5 separate regions of the Homo sapiens genome follow, and all the other regions are linked to region 5. The links are contacts of gene promoters, found by promoter capture Hi-C in blood cells and fetal thymus (Javierre and others, 2016). All regions are on one chromosome and are shown on one strand. The core of a region is centred on a gene start or on the middle of the fragment in contact, and the rest is flanking DNA. Distances in the headings are between cores, read along the strand shown.

Region 1 (2,897 bases), core at 398-2,897, 150 kb before region 5:
GCTTTGGGTAGTTGGACCATTTTAGCAATATTAATTCTTCCTATCAATGAGCATGGAATGTTTTTCCATTCATTTGTATCATCTCTGTTTGTTTTGTTTTGTTTTTTTTTTCCCAGCAGCATCTTGTAACTCATTGTAGAGATCTTTCATCTCCTGGTTAGCTATATTCCTAGATATTTTATTCTTTTTGTGGCTATTGTGAATGGGATTGCCTTCCTGATTTGGCTCTCTGCATGGATATTATTCGTGTATAGAAATGCTCCTAATTTTTGTACATTTATTTTCTGTCCTGAAACTGTGCTAAAGTTGTTTATCAGGAGCTTTTCAACAGAGACTGTGGGGTTTTGGGGGGTATAGGATCATATCATTTGCAAACAGAGAAGTTTGATTTCCTGTCTTCCTATTTGGATGCATTTTATTTCAGTAGTATGTTAATAGGAGTGGTAAAAGAGGGCATCCTTGCCTTGTTCCAGTTCTCAAGAGGAATGTTTCCAGCTGTTGCCTATTCACTATGATGTTGGCTGTGGGTTTTTCATAGATAGCTCTTATTATTTTGAAGTATGTTTCTCCGATGCCTAGTTTGTTGAGGGTTTTTAACATGAAGGGATGTTGAAATTTATTTAAAGCTTTTTTTTGCATCTATTGAGATGATCATGTTGTTTTTTTGTTTTTAGTTTTGTTTATGTTGTGAATCACATTTATTGACTTGTATATATTGAAATGTTACATCCAAGGGATAATGCCTACTTAATCATGGTGGTGGAATAGGTTTTTGGTGTGTGCTGGATTTGGTTTGCTAGTATTTTACATCTGTGGATTTTTCATCTATGTTCATCAAGGATATTGGCCTGAAGTTTTCTTTTTCATTGTTGTATGCCTGCCATGTGTTGTATGCCTGCCAGGATGACGCTGGCTGTCATAGAATGAGTTAAGGAGTTTCTCCTCTTTAGTTTCTTAGAATAGTTTCAGAAGGAATGGTACCAGCTCTTCTTAATACATCTGGTAGAATTTAGCTGTGAAACCATCTGGTCCTGGCTTTTCTGTTTGATAGGTTTATTATTACTGATTAAATTTCAGAGCTCATTTTTCTGTTCAGGGATTCCATTTCTTCCTGGTTCAATCTTGGGAGGTTTTTTGTTTCCAGGAATGTATTCGTTTTTCTAGGTTTTCTAGCCTGTATGCATAGAGATGTTTGTAATAATAGCCTCTGAGGGATTTTTTTTTTTTTTAGTTTCTGTGAGTCTGGTGGTAATACCCTTTTTGTCACTTCTGATTGTGTTTATATGGATCTTCTCTCCTTTTCTTTATTAGTCTAGCTAGCAATCTATCTTATTTCAAAAAATTGACTCCTGAAGTTGTTGATCTTTTGCTTTTTTTTCTCTCTCTCTTCAATTTATCTCTGATTTTGGTTTTTTTGTCTTCTGCTAGCTTTGGGGTTGGTCTGCTCTTGTTTCTTTAGTTCCTCTAAGTGTAATGTTAGGTTGCTAATTTGAGATCTTTTCAAAGTTTTTGATGTGGGCATTTAGTGCTATAAAATTTCCTCTTAACACTGCCTTAGCTGTGTTCCAGAGATTCTTGTATGTTTGTTCTTATTAGTTTCAAATAATTTCTTGGTTTCTACCTTAATTTCATTTTTTTCTTTTGATTTGTTGAGGATTGTTTTATGGCTGAATGTGTGGTTGATTTTAGAGTATGTGCCATGTGCAGCTGAGAAGAATGTATATTCTGTTGTTTTTTGGTGAAGAGTTCTGTAGGTGTCCATTAGGTCCATTTGGTGAAGTGTTGAGTTCAGATCTCAAATATCTTTGTTAGTTTTCTGCCTTTATGATCTAATACCATCAGTGGGGCATTGAAGCCTCCCACTGTTAACTCTGTGGTTAAGTCTCTTTGTAGGTGTGTAAGAATTTGCCGTATGAATCTGAGTGCTCTTGTGTTGGGTGCATACGTATTTAGGATAGTTAGGTCTGCTTGTTGGATTGAACCTTTTACCAATATGTAATACCCGTGTCTTTTTTTGTTTTTGGTTTAAAGTCTGTTTTATCTGAAATTTGACTAGTAATCCCTGCTTTTTTTTTTTTTTTTGCCAAGGGTTAATATATTTTATATATAAGTAAAGATATACAGTCATACATTGCTTAATGTGTTGTTAGGCAGTTTTATAGTGAGAACATAATAGCGTGTACTTACGCAAACCTAGATGGCATAATATACCACACACCTAGGCTATATGGTATGGCCTATTGCTCCTAGATTTACTTTTTTCTGTTTTCCATTTGTGTTGTAGATTTTTCTCTATCTCTTTACTTTGAATGTGTGGGCGTCATTGCATGTGAGATGGGTCTCTTGAAGACAGCATACGATTGGTTTTGTTTCTCTATCCAGCTTGTCATTTTGCCTTTTAATTGGGGCATTTAGCCCATTTACATTCAAGGTTACTATTCATATGTGTAGATTTGATCTTGTTATTGTGTCGTTAGCTAGTTATTATGCAGACTTGTTTGTATGCTTGCTTTATAGTGTCACTGGTCTATGTACTTACGTGTGTTTTTGTGGTGGCTGTTAATGATCTTTCCATATTTAGCACTACCTTTAGGAACTCTTATAAGGCAGATCTAGTGGGAACAAATTCTCTTAGTAGTTGCTTGTCTGAAAATGATTATGAAGCTTCTTTTGGCTGGATGGGAAATTCATGGTTGGAATTTCTTTTCCTTAAGAATGCTGAATATAAACTCTGATAATGCACAATAAATTTTCTGGACATTAGAGAAAAATTACTGGACTGTAGATTGTGGTAAAGTTCAAATTACTGGAAATAGCAATGGAGTATATCCACTGCCTTGGCCTTCATTTCTGCGTATTTATTTGGTGTGGTAATCACCACTTGAGATTCTCTAATT
Region 2 (2,700 bases), core at 48-2,547, 210 kb before region 5:
GCCAGTCCTGCTAGGTCGGGAAAGTTCTCCTGGATGATATCCTGAAGTATGTTTCCCAACTTGGTTTTGTTCTCCCCATCTCTTTCGGGCACCCCATTCAGTCACAGATTTGGTCTTTTACATAATCCCATCTTTCTTGGAGGTTTTGTTTGTCCCTTTACATTTTTTCTCTATTCTTGTCTGCCTGTCTTATTTCAGAAAGATAGTCAAGTTCTGAGATTCTTTCCTCCACTTGATTACAGTAAGGTGTGTGCCTCATTTCGACATGCTGTGATCTGCTGGCTGCCTGGAATTGGCTGAAGCTCAGTGCTTGTGACTGGCTGAGACCCAGCTATCTATACCAAAAAATACACTCCTAAATTGGGTTTTCGTTTATTTGCATACTAAGTTAGGTTGTAGTTTATTACACAGGAACTGAAAGTAGAAAGACAGCATTGGGACAATGGTCTTCCACTTATTTCATTTAACAATTTCTCCCTTGTGATCAGTCTCTCAATTTTGAGACTGGCATGGTCTGATTTAACGAGGATTCCATCTTTATCTTTAGCCTGGTAACACAAGTCATAGAAGCCTGGAGACCCACTCACTAGAAAAAAAACATAAATATTAAAAAAAAAACGTTTAAAGTTAAGCTTGTCATCCACCATTTAGAATGCCCACAAGCAAACTATTAGCTTTTCCTATAAACACATCCATATTCCCTTTTTAGTGTATTTATTATCAGTGTCTTAAGAAACAGGATATCAGCCACCTTTTAAATTAAGCTTTCTGTAGTAGCAAAATCAGGGGAAGAAAAATACAATATTCAGTATTGTTTAGCACCATGTACAACTGTCCAACAGAGTCAAAGAGGAGATGTAAAATTGTACCATGTCTCATTAAGTGCTTCTGGTGAACACATGCTATCATTCACCTTTTGGAGGATGGCTTCGACCTGTCTGAAGCCCTGGGATGTCTGGTTGACCACACAATTTAAGAATTTCACGAACGTATAAATTAGTTTCAAATTCCACACAACTGGTAACCCACTGCCAACAGGAGTGAGCCGCTAGGTTCGCCTCCACTGAAGAATCTTTCTTCAGTAAAAAGTAGCTCATCTTCATCTATTTAAAGGTATCTAGGAGGTGGCTCACACCTGTAATCCCAGCACTTGGGGAGGCTGAGGTGGACGGATTCCTTGAGGTCAAGAGTTCAAGACCAGCCTGGCCAACATGGTGAAACCCCGTCTCTGCAAATAAAAACAAACAAACAAACAAAAAAACAAAATATATATATTAGCTGGGCATATATATAGCTGGGCACACACTGGCAATCCCAGCTACTCAGGAGGCTGAGGCAGAAGAATCACTTGAACTTGGGAGACGAAGGTTGCAGTGAGCCGAGATCATGCCACTGCACTCCAGCCTGGGTAACAGAGTGAGACTCTGTCTCAAAAAACAAACGAACAAACAAAAACAAACAAAAACACAACAAAAATTAAGATAGCTTGTCTTTATCCATTTCAGTTGTTGACCAATTTAACCTCAGGATCAGCTGTCCAACAATGGACATTCTCTCTTAAAATGCTCTGGCTTTCCACACTTGCAACATCCACTCATAGTCTTAGGAGGTTTTCCCTGCATTTCCCTTCTTTCTTGGTGTTGAAGTCTATTATAGCTTTGTCTCCTCTGAGGGGGATCTTGATCTAATCGTTTTCTGACTACCTCTTCCACAGTGGAAACCATGCTTTTCGCTTTCTGTTTCTGCTTCTCTTCCTCTCTCCTTACAAAAACCCTCTGAGCTTCCCTCAGCAATTCCTCAATCGGTTTCTCATTCCATCCATCAAGCTTTTGTAATTTTTTTGTAATGTCAGGCCAGCTCTTAGTTACAAAGTTAATCTTCAAAAGGCCTTGCCCTGCTGGATAATCCGGATCTAGCCCGGAGTATTTTCTCATCTCTGAGCCGCTGCGGGAGTGCAGAGGGAGTTTTCTCTTTTTCTTGTTGAATCTCAAATGCCTTTGAGACATTTTATGTCCTAGGAGTGGATTCTTTGATCCCTCGAATTATTATTTCCCTGAGGTGCTGCATTTGGGCCCAGTCCCTGGGATCATTATTGTCCCATTGGGATTGACATTTGGAAATTTTTTTTTTTTTTATTGATCATTCTTGGGTGTTTCTCGCAGAGGGGGATTTGGCAGGGTCATAGGACAATAGTGGAAGGAAGGTCAGCAGATAAACAAGTGAACAAAGGTCTCTGGTTTTCCTAGGCAGAGGACCCTGCGGCCTTCCGCAGTGTTTGTGTCCCTGGGTACTTGAGATTAGGGAGTGGTGATGACTCTTAACGAGCCTGCTGCCTTCAAGCATCTGTTTAACAAAGCACATCTTGCACCGCCCTTAATCCATTCAACCCTGAGTGGACACAGCACATGTTTCAGAGAGCACAGGGTTGGGGGTAAGGTCACAGATCAACAGGATCCCAAGGCAGAAGAATTTTTCTTAGTACAGAACAAAATGAAAAGTCTCCCATGTCTACCTCTTTCTACACAGACACGGCAACCATCCGATTTCTCAATCTTTTCCCCACCTTTCCCCCTTTTCTATTCCACAAAACCGCCATTGTCATCATGGCCCGTTCTCAATGAACTGTTGGGTACACCTCCCAGACCGGGTGGTGGCCGGGCAGAGGGGCTCCTCACTTCCCAGTAGGGGCGGCCGGGCAGA
Region 3 (2,899 bases), core at 35-2,534, 140 kb before region 5:
CAACGTTGTGTCTTTTATCATCAAATCTACTAAAAATTGGCTGATTTTACCATCTTTTCCTTCTCCTGATCCATATGTTACAATTTGTTGACTGAATGTAATTCTTTCTAAAAAGGAATAATCTCTTTTTGACTGCCTCCAGGATAAGAATGAAATGGTTGAGAGCTGTAGAGATCTGTTTCCCAAATTTGAGATTCCACACTGACTACCTGAAAAGATGCATCTCACTGGCCAGGCGCAGTGGCCCACGCCTGTAATCCCAGCACTTTGGGAGGCCGAGGCGGGTGGATCACAAGGTCAGGAGTTCGAGACCGGCCTGGCCAATATGGTGAAACCCCGGTTCTACTAAAAATACAAAAATTAGCCAGGCATGGTGGCGAACGCCTGTAGTCCCAGCTACTCAGGAGGCTGAGGCAGGAGAATTGCTTGAACCTGGGAGGCGGAGGTTGCATTGAGCTGAGATCGGGCCACTGCACTCCAGCCTGGGAGACAGAGCGAGACTCTGTCTCAAAAAAAAAAAAAGAAAGAAAGAAAAGATAATCTTCCTTTCCGCTAAATGCAACCCTAGCTTAGTTTGTACTAGACTAGGGTTTAGAGCTAGTCTTTTGCGGGCTTTCAGAGAGTTCAAATTGACCCACCTCAAAAGTGGAATATAAAGCCACACAGCCCTCAGTCCTCCTTGGGTTAGGATTCAGCTTGACAGGAGCTCTGTAGCAAGCTTTTAGCTGACACCCACCTCAAAAGTGGAATATAAAGCTACGCAGCCCTCAGTCCTCCTTGGGTTAGGATTCAGCTTGACAGGGGCTCGGTAGCAAGCTTTTAGCTGACTTTCACATCAGCTCTAAACCCTAGCTTTCCCCTAACTGCCCCAAGCCTAGTTTGTAGTAGGCTGAGTGGCAACCTAGCCCAAAGTGGGATTATGATACTCCAACTTAGTTGTGGTTGAGTTTTATGTAAACATTTTTGTCGCTATTTCATCTGGCTTTTCTAGATAAAATGTCTAGGAGAAGGTAGGGAGTGACCAGAATAAAGGTGAAATTCTTGGTGCTGAATGAGATACACTAATTTTGTGGATGTAGTTGGGGAGGGATAGCTACCCGAAACCCGCAGAGTAAACAACTGAGACCTCAGGAGATATGGAGAATGGAAGGGCATTAATAACTTTTTGTCTTTCTGAATCACCCTTAGTGAGGGCCAAAGAAAAATCTGGAAATCATGTTGGGAAAGGACAGGGTTAGTATTGGAGCAGATGGTAGGGCAGATGCTGTGGGTTCATATCCTTTTGGTCTCTCCACATCACCCTTCACGGTCCTTTGGGATTGTTCTATCTCTCTCTGTGATGTGGATGTGGAGTTTTATTGAGCATGCATGCTTACTGCCTAGCTGTCTGAGGCTACGGGGGTAGATGATGGAGAACTGTTACTTTTTTTTCTGAGAGACTTAGTATCTCATGGCTGAGCTTAAGCTGGATCTATGGAGCACTGATCCCATTGTCTACTTCTGTGAGCTAGTGCTCCTCCATCTAGTTTCTACCATCTAGAGACGAATCTTATCAATACTTGGGTAAACCAAAGACATAAGTCAGGTAAGGGAATCCTAGACATAGCCCGACTCTTGCCTTTTTCCTCTTCTCACTTTAAATCTTGTTGGCTCAGAGAGTTACCCTCAGATGGAGTCTCTCAGGAGTAATTAGAACATTGTACTTCTAGAGAAGCTGGTGGAACAGGGTAGGGTTCCCAGTTCAAAGCTTCTGTCAAAAACTTCCAGTCTGTGTGTAGTAAATAAATCTAGAAACGATCCTAGAGCTCTGGATGGATCATTAAGAGAGGGCAGGATTTCTGTAGATCAGAATACCAGGACACATGTTCATCCGTCACCTTCCGGGGTCAAATTCTCGGTTAAGCCTGTGTGGTAGGGCTGTAGAGCAGTGTGTGCCTGGGAAAGCCTCTGATCACACATTTCCTCAGGGATTTTTTAGGCCTGATGTCCCTTTGAATTTACTTTAACAATCCTTTTGTAATTTTATTTTTTACATCAATTGTAACTTAGTATTATTATATATATAGGCATTTGGGTGTGTCTTGAAGGCATGTCCTGGTTTCAAACTGATTTGTGGTATATTATTGAATTAGGCCCATTTACTGGAATTATAAACTGCTATCCAACTACACAAAGAGCTGAGGATTCTGGGGAGGTCAGGATGGAGATGAAATAGAAGTGAGGAGAAAATAGCTCTCTCTCTCACATGCAGATTCTTTATGGATAAAATGCATAATTACCTAAAATTTAAAATACTCAAAAAATTATCTAATCAGTATGTAATGGAAATTATAGAGCAAAGAACAAAACAAACACCAAAATAATTTTCTTTTTTCTACATAAAAATTAAATAATTTACATAATGAAATATTCCATGATCCCAGTGTAAAATGCCAATAGAATATATGTAAAAAAAAAAAAAGACAATACCTGTATTAGATTTAAAATCTTCTACAATACATAAGATGAATTGAAATTTTTAGAGTAGAAGAAAGTTTAAAATTAGGTAAATGATATGAGCCAGGTGAAGAATAGGATCATTAAGCATTTAATATACCTTGTCTTAGATTCTGTGTAAGAAAATGAAAAGTAAAAACAATGGCATGGTGATTTCATCAAACTGAAAAAATAGAAGCATTTCTCCAGAGAGAATGCTATTAAAGGTTGGTGAATATCAATCTTCTGAGGACTCGGCCTGGGAGAGTGAAGAGCTACAGCCTTTTCTGAGTTCAAGTGGGGAAGATATAAATATATATTCATTTTGCTACTCTTTTTAATATACAAACATATATGAATGATTACACCCTAATAATATTTTCTGATTTACAGAAATGCATGACTGTCATAAGACAGCCAAAAG
Region 4 (2,865 bases), core at 62-2,561, 180 kb before region 5:
TCTCATAGAAGCATGCTTATAGATGACACATTGCTTTTCCCTTTCTGTTTTTGAGATTCTCTTCTCATCTGTAATTTTTTGAAACTGCTTATAATGTATCTTGTTATGTGTCTGTTTGTGTTTATCCTATTTGAAATGTGTTGAGCTTCTTAATTTTTTTTTTTTACATTTGAGAATTTGTCAGGGTTTCTCATTTTCTTAATTTCATGTCTGTTTTCCTGTTTTACTCATTGGGCATTATTCAAATGGTTATCTCAGATTTTTCAGGTAACTTATACATCTCCATTTCTTTAGGGTTGATTTCTGGATATTTATTTATTTATTTATTTATTTATTTATTTATTTATTTATTTTTTTTTTGATTGAGCCATGTTACCCTAATGTATATGTTGCAATCTTTGGTTGAGATTTGGGCACTAAAAGCCATCTGTCAAAATCTTTATAAAATGGCTTTGTCCTGGATAATCTGATACCAAGTGACTTGGGCTAGGGTTTCCATGAGCCTCTCAAACCTATTCTCAGGATGTATGTTCTCTGGAATTTTGTGTTTAATTTCCAGTTAAAGAGGTTTACCCTTGTTTCTTCTTTCTTTCTTCTTCTCTAATCAATTATTTGCTAAATCTGTTGTCTGTCTGTAGTACTGCAGCCTCTCTGCTGCTATAACAATTATTTACCTTTGGTCTCAGCAGAACCAACCTTTGAATTAAAGGTTGGTTCTATTCTACCACTATTCCTTTCAGCACTTTGTGTCATGGGAGACAGAAACTAGTCTTTGGAAATTCCATCAAAAGTATGGGCATATGTGCCACTACTGTCTCTATTGAAGGAGAAGCTAGGAGTTGGGAGTTTATTCCTGAAGTCATTATGCTGTGTTTAGGAGAAGAAAGAGTTGTGGTGGGTAAATGTAACAAGCTTTCCTTCCCCTTGTCTATGGCTTTTAATATGGTTTCTAGAGTTCTCACAAAGGCATTTTGTTCAGTATATTTTTGTTATATTATGTTCATCAAAAAATCAGGGCCTGTAGTATTTTATTATGCTATCTCGCTAATGTGTTTGGTATAATTTCATATATTAGCTTTTTAAATTATATTCATCTAAGTCCAGTAAGTTGGATAATATGTTATTTTAATTTTTTTCAGCTGTTTCTTCTCATTTCACCCAAGACCTCTTGCCAGAGCATGGTATAAAAGATTCATTTCAAAAAGTGATACTGAGAAGATATGGAAGCTATGGCATTGAGAATTTACAATTAAAGAAAGATTGGGAAAGTGTGGGTGAATCTAAGGTGCAGAAAGAATGTTGTAATGGACTTAACCAATCTTTATCAACTACACATACCAAAATCTTTCAATTTAATAAATGTGTGAAAGTCTTTAGTAAATCGTCAAATCTAAATAGACATAAGATAAGACATACTGGAGAGATATCTTCCAACTGTAAAGAATGTGACAATTCCTTTTACATATCCTCAGTTCTAACTCCACTTCAGAGAATCCACACTGCAGAGAAATCCTACAAGTGTAAACAATGTGGGAAAGCCTTTAGGCACTGCTCATGCTTTCTTGAACATGAGACAATTCATAATGAAGAGAAACATTACAAATGTAAAGAATGTGGAAAAGTCTTTAAATCCTTCACAAGCCTTTCTAATCACATTATAATTCATACTGGAAAGAAACTCTATAAATGTGAAGAATGTGGCAAAGCTTTTAACCACAGTTCAAACCATGCCAAACATAAGAAAATTCACACTGGACAGAAACCCCATAAATGTGAAGAATGTGGCAAAGCCTTTAACTGGTTCTCATACCTAACTCTACATAAAAGAATTCATACTGGAGAGAAACCCTACAAATGTGATGAATGTGGCAAAGCTTTTAACCAGTGTTCAAACCTCACTAAACATAAGAGAATTCATACTGGAGAGAAACCCTACAAATGTGAAGAATGTGGCAAAGCTTTTAACCGGTGCTCACACCTTACTGAACATAAAAGAATTCATACTGGAGAGAAGCCCTATAAATGTGAAGAATGTGGTAAAGTCTTTATATCTTGTTCAAGCCTTTCAAACCATAAGAGAATTCATACAAGAGAGAAATGCTACAAATCTGAAGAATGTGGCAAAACCTTTAACCACTGCTCAGACCTCAATGTACCTGAGAAAATTCATACCTGAGAAAAATCCTACAAATGTAAAAAATGTGGCAAAGCCTTTAATACCTGCTCATGTCTTACTCAGGACCAGAGTTCATATTGAACTAAAGAATTATAAATATAATGACTGTCACAACACCTTTCACAGAAAAAAATAATTTTACCACAGATTAATTTGTTCATTAATGGAACTTTAATTCTGTGGTTTTTTTTTTTTTTTTTTGGTCTACATAAATCTGTCCTTATGCCAGTACTATATTGTTTAATTACTGTAACATTGTAGTAAGAATTTATATCAGGAGTGTAAGTTACTGAATTTTGTTATTTTTCAGAATTCTTGTGTGTTTGATTTTCTTTATATGTTTATATGGATTTTAGGAAGAGCTTGTCAATTTATATTAAAGAAAAGCTACATTGGAATTTGCATTGAATCTGTAGATAAATTTGTTGGGTATTTTGATCTTCATATTCAGTATTGCTATATTTGAATATTGAGTATATCTCAGTTTATTCAGCTCTTTGATTTCTTTCAGCATTTTAAATAATTTTCAGTGTATAGTATGTGCAGTTATTTTGTTAAGTTCATTTCTAATTTTTTTTTCTAGGATACTATTAATGAAATTTTAATTTAATTCTTATTTTGTTTATTCCTATAATATAAAAGTACTATCTAACCTTGTATGTTGATCTTGTGGCATTGATGAACTTCTA
Region 5 (2,700 bases), core at 3-2,502:
CTTTAAATATTCTGAGCTATTCATTCATGTTGTAACCTTGGGTGCTCCCCTAGGTCTTTTCAGTTTTACTCCAATTTGGAAAGTGGAATGGTTTCAATCTGGGGGGATGCAACTTTTTCCCAGCAAAGTCCTCTCCCCACAATGATGTTCACCAAGGCCAGGGCAGCTAGTACAGTGCCCTGTGCATAGCAGGGCAGTTGTAGAACTGGGCTGAATCAGAAACAAAATTAGTAGCAACCACTGGTTCAAGGTAAGAGATGCATTAACTGTGCATGAATTCCATATGTGTTGTGAGGGTTTGCCCCATGGCCAGTCCAGGGTTTAGGTCTTAGAAAATAGCTTTGCCCTGTTAAGAACCAAAGAATGACTTCAAGACATACTCAGCTGTTTGGCTAAATTTCTGCAGGAGGAAATGTCTTCACAGCCGATTTTTTTGTTTTGTTTTGTTTTTGTTTTTGAGATGGAGTTTTCCTCTTATTACCCAAGCTGGAGTGCAAAGGCATGATCTCGGCTCACTGTAACCTCCGCTTCCCAGGCTCACGCGAGTCTCCTGCCTCAGTCTCCTGAGTAGCTGGGATTACAGGCGACCACCACCACTCCTGGCTAATTTTTAAAAATACTTTTAGCAGAGACGGGGTTTCGCCATACTGGCCAGGCTGGTCTCAAACTCCTGGCCTCATGTGATCCTCCCTCCTCAGCCTCCCCAAGTGCTGGGATCACAGGCGTAAGCCACCACGACCCGCCAGATCCTAGAAAATTTTAAATGACACGCGTGGCTCACCTTTTATTTATATTGCATATTGCTGCCTGAGAGGATTGCCTCACTTTCCACAGCTCAGGCTGCCTGGTCAAAAGACCAGAGGCCCGGAAGGTTATGAAATCGGAAACTTTAAAATAATTATCATTCATTGTTTCTATTTGTGAAATATATATGTGTGTGTGTGTGTGTGTGTGTGTGTGTGTGTAAAACTTATGAATGGATATAATCTTATATACAAGGTTAAATGCCATTATCCCCCAGGCAGGTGGGTCCAGGTCGAAGTGCCGTGAGGAATGTCGCTTCAAAAGGGCTGCACCCAAAAACCTGTCACTCTTGTTTCATTCGGCCCAGTGTCTGATCGCACCTCCTGTCACTCAAGACCTGAGGGGGTGGGGCCTGGAGCCCCATCCAGTCAGCGGCGCTAGCGTGAGAACTGTCCAATCAGGCGTGCAGCCAGAGAGGAAGGGGCGGCCTTGGGGATCTGGCGGGGCCTTTGTCTCCTTGCGGCCGGCGGGGTGCTGGGTTCCCGTCTGCTGCCTCTCGGAGAGTCCCGGGTGACTGCCGCAGGCTCCATCGCCCTGTGGCCTGCAGGTATTGCGAGATTTATAGGGAGGACGCTGGGACCCCCAAAAGCTGGGAAATGGTGAGTGTGCGGAGCAGGGTGTCCCGAGAAGGGAGAGGGGGTGGTTGGAATCGGTTGGAATTGGCTGGAACCAGCGCTGGCGGCCCCGGGCCTCCCGGCGGTCGGCTCCGGAGTGTGCGGCCGAGTCCCGCTGGCGCAGCTCGGCCCTCAGTCCCGTCCCGCGCAGGTGGGGGCCGGGCCGGCAGCGGGATCCCGGCCGCTGGGTGACTGTCCGGTCTCTGCCTGGTGACTTCGGCACGGCCCAGAGCCCTCCCGGGGCAGCCCCGCGCCCGCAGCGCCGCGTCTTCCCTGGATTGTGCTGTGATGACGGAGGGGTTGTCGGGAGAGTCCCGACTCCCGTGAAAGGTTCCTGGGTGGGAGGAGCTGTGGTCTGTGGGTTCCTTTCTCCTCTTTTTTTTTTTTTTTTTTTTTGAGACGGAGTCTCGCCCTGTCGCCAGGCTGGAGTTCGGTGGCTCGATCTCGGCTCACCGCAACCTCTGCCTCCCAGGTTCAAGCGATTCTCCTGCCTCAGCCTCCCGAGTAGCTGGAATTACAGGCGCCCACCACCACGCCCAGCTAATTTTTGTATTTTTATTAGAAACGGAGATTTCACCATGTTGGTGTCGATCTCTTGACCTCGTGATCCGCCCGCCTCGGCCTCCCAAAGTGCTGGGATTACAGGCGTGAGCCACCGCGCCCGGTCTCCTTTCTCCTCTTAAAAAAATAAACTGAAGCACCTTTGAAATGTTAAGGAGTTTATTCCAGCAAACAGTGATTTATGAATCTGGAAGCCCCTAGCCCTGGTTTGGGGCTAAACTTGAAGGGAAGGTCTTCATAAGGTGCACGAGGAAGCAACCACGTTTAATAATTGATCGGTTGCCATTATGCAGTCACCTTATTTGGACTGTCCAGGATGAAATTTCCTGATTATGTAATAAGAGATTTATTAGCATTTAGTGGTTGGTTAAGCCTACGTTTTGTTTTTCTCCAAGTTTGCAATTTACAAGAAATTCATCTAAGTTAGCTAGGATTCCTTAGATAGAATCCCAGGACATCAAAGCCACTCAGTCTAATTGTCTGCCATTTAAGTATTCTAACACTCCACAGGGGAACTGGTTTTCCCAGCATTTTTCAAATGTATGGCAAGCAGGACCTCAAATCCAGGACTCTGTTCCCCCAGCCTAACTGTTTTAGGGCCTGAAGGAAATCTTGTTTCCAGTTTCTTTTCTACATTCCCAAATGCTAACTTTGTCTCTCCAAACACAACATTATCAACTATTTGTTCTTTTTATTTATTTATTTTTTTTGAGACGAAGTC

The links. Contacts are between HindIII fragments. The CHiCAGO score rates a contact against its expected background, and 5 or more counts as called.
Region 1: a fragment that was not itself captured here is called in contact with the fragment with the promoter of ZNF695 in region 5 in 1 of 17 cell types (erythroblasts); the score reaches 6.2 in erythroblasts.
Region 2: a fragment that was not itself captured here is called in contact with the fragment with the promoter of ZNF695 in region 5 in 1 of 17 cell types (monocytes); the score reaches 5.2 in monocytes.
Region 3: a contact is called between a fragment that was not itself captured here and the fragment with the promoter of ZNF695 in region 5, in 1 of 17 cell types (erythroblasts). The highest score is 6.0, in erythroblasts.
Region 4: a contact is called between a fragment that was not itself captured here and the fragment with the promoter of ZNF695 in region 5, in 3 of 17 cell types (erythroblasts, megakaryocytes and M1 macrophages). The highest score is 9.3, in erythroblasts.

Annotation. Positions count from the first base shown.
Region 1 is chr1:247,161,804-247,164,700 of GRCh38, reverse strand. All of the region lies in intron 1 of ZNF124 (zinc finger protein 124), which reads left to right. Among named protein-coding and RNA genes, the nearest start is that of ZNF124, 8.8 kb to the left of the region's middle. The HindIII fragment of the contact is 2,038 bases long and covers 629-2,666 here.
Region 2 is chr1:247,220,678-247,223,377 of GRCh38, reverse strand. No RefSeq gene overlaps it. Among named protein-coding and RNA genes, the nearest start is that of MIR3916, 20 kb to the right of the region's middle. The HindIII fragment of the contact is 1,062 bases long and covers 767-1,828 here.
Region 3 is chr1:247,142,404-247,145,302 of GRCh38, reverse strand. It overlaps a transcript of ZNF124 not described here. Among named protein-coding and RNA genes, the nearest start is that of ZNF124, 28 kb to the left of the region's middle. The HindIII fragment of the contact is 931 bases long and covers 819-1,749 here.
Region 4 is chr1:247,189,289-247,192,153 of GRCh38, reverse strand. It overlaps the pseudogene ZNF731P. Among named protein-coding and RNA genes, the nearest start is that of MIR3916, 11 kb to the left of the region's middle. The HindIII fragment of the contact is 794 bases long and covers 915-1,708 here.
Region 5 is chr1:247,006,609-247,009,308 of GRCh38, reverse strand. ZNF695 (zinc finger protein 695) reads left to right here and starts at 1,252. Exons shown (of 4, transcript NM_020394.5): 1 at 1,252-1,403. The coding sequence starts at 1,401. All of the region lies in intron 1 of ZNF670-ZNF695 (ZNF670-ZNF695 readthrough (NMD candidate)), which reads left to right. RefSeq lists silencers at 1,000-1,059, 1,560-1,659. The HindIII fragment of the contact is 12,382 bases long and covers 1-2,700 here.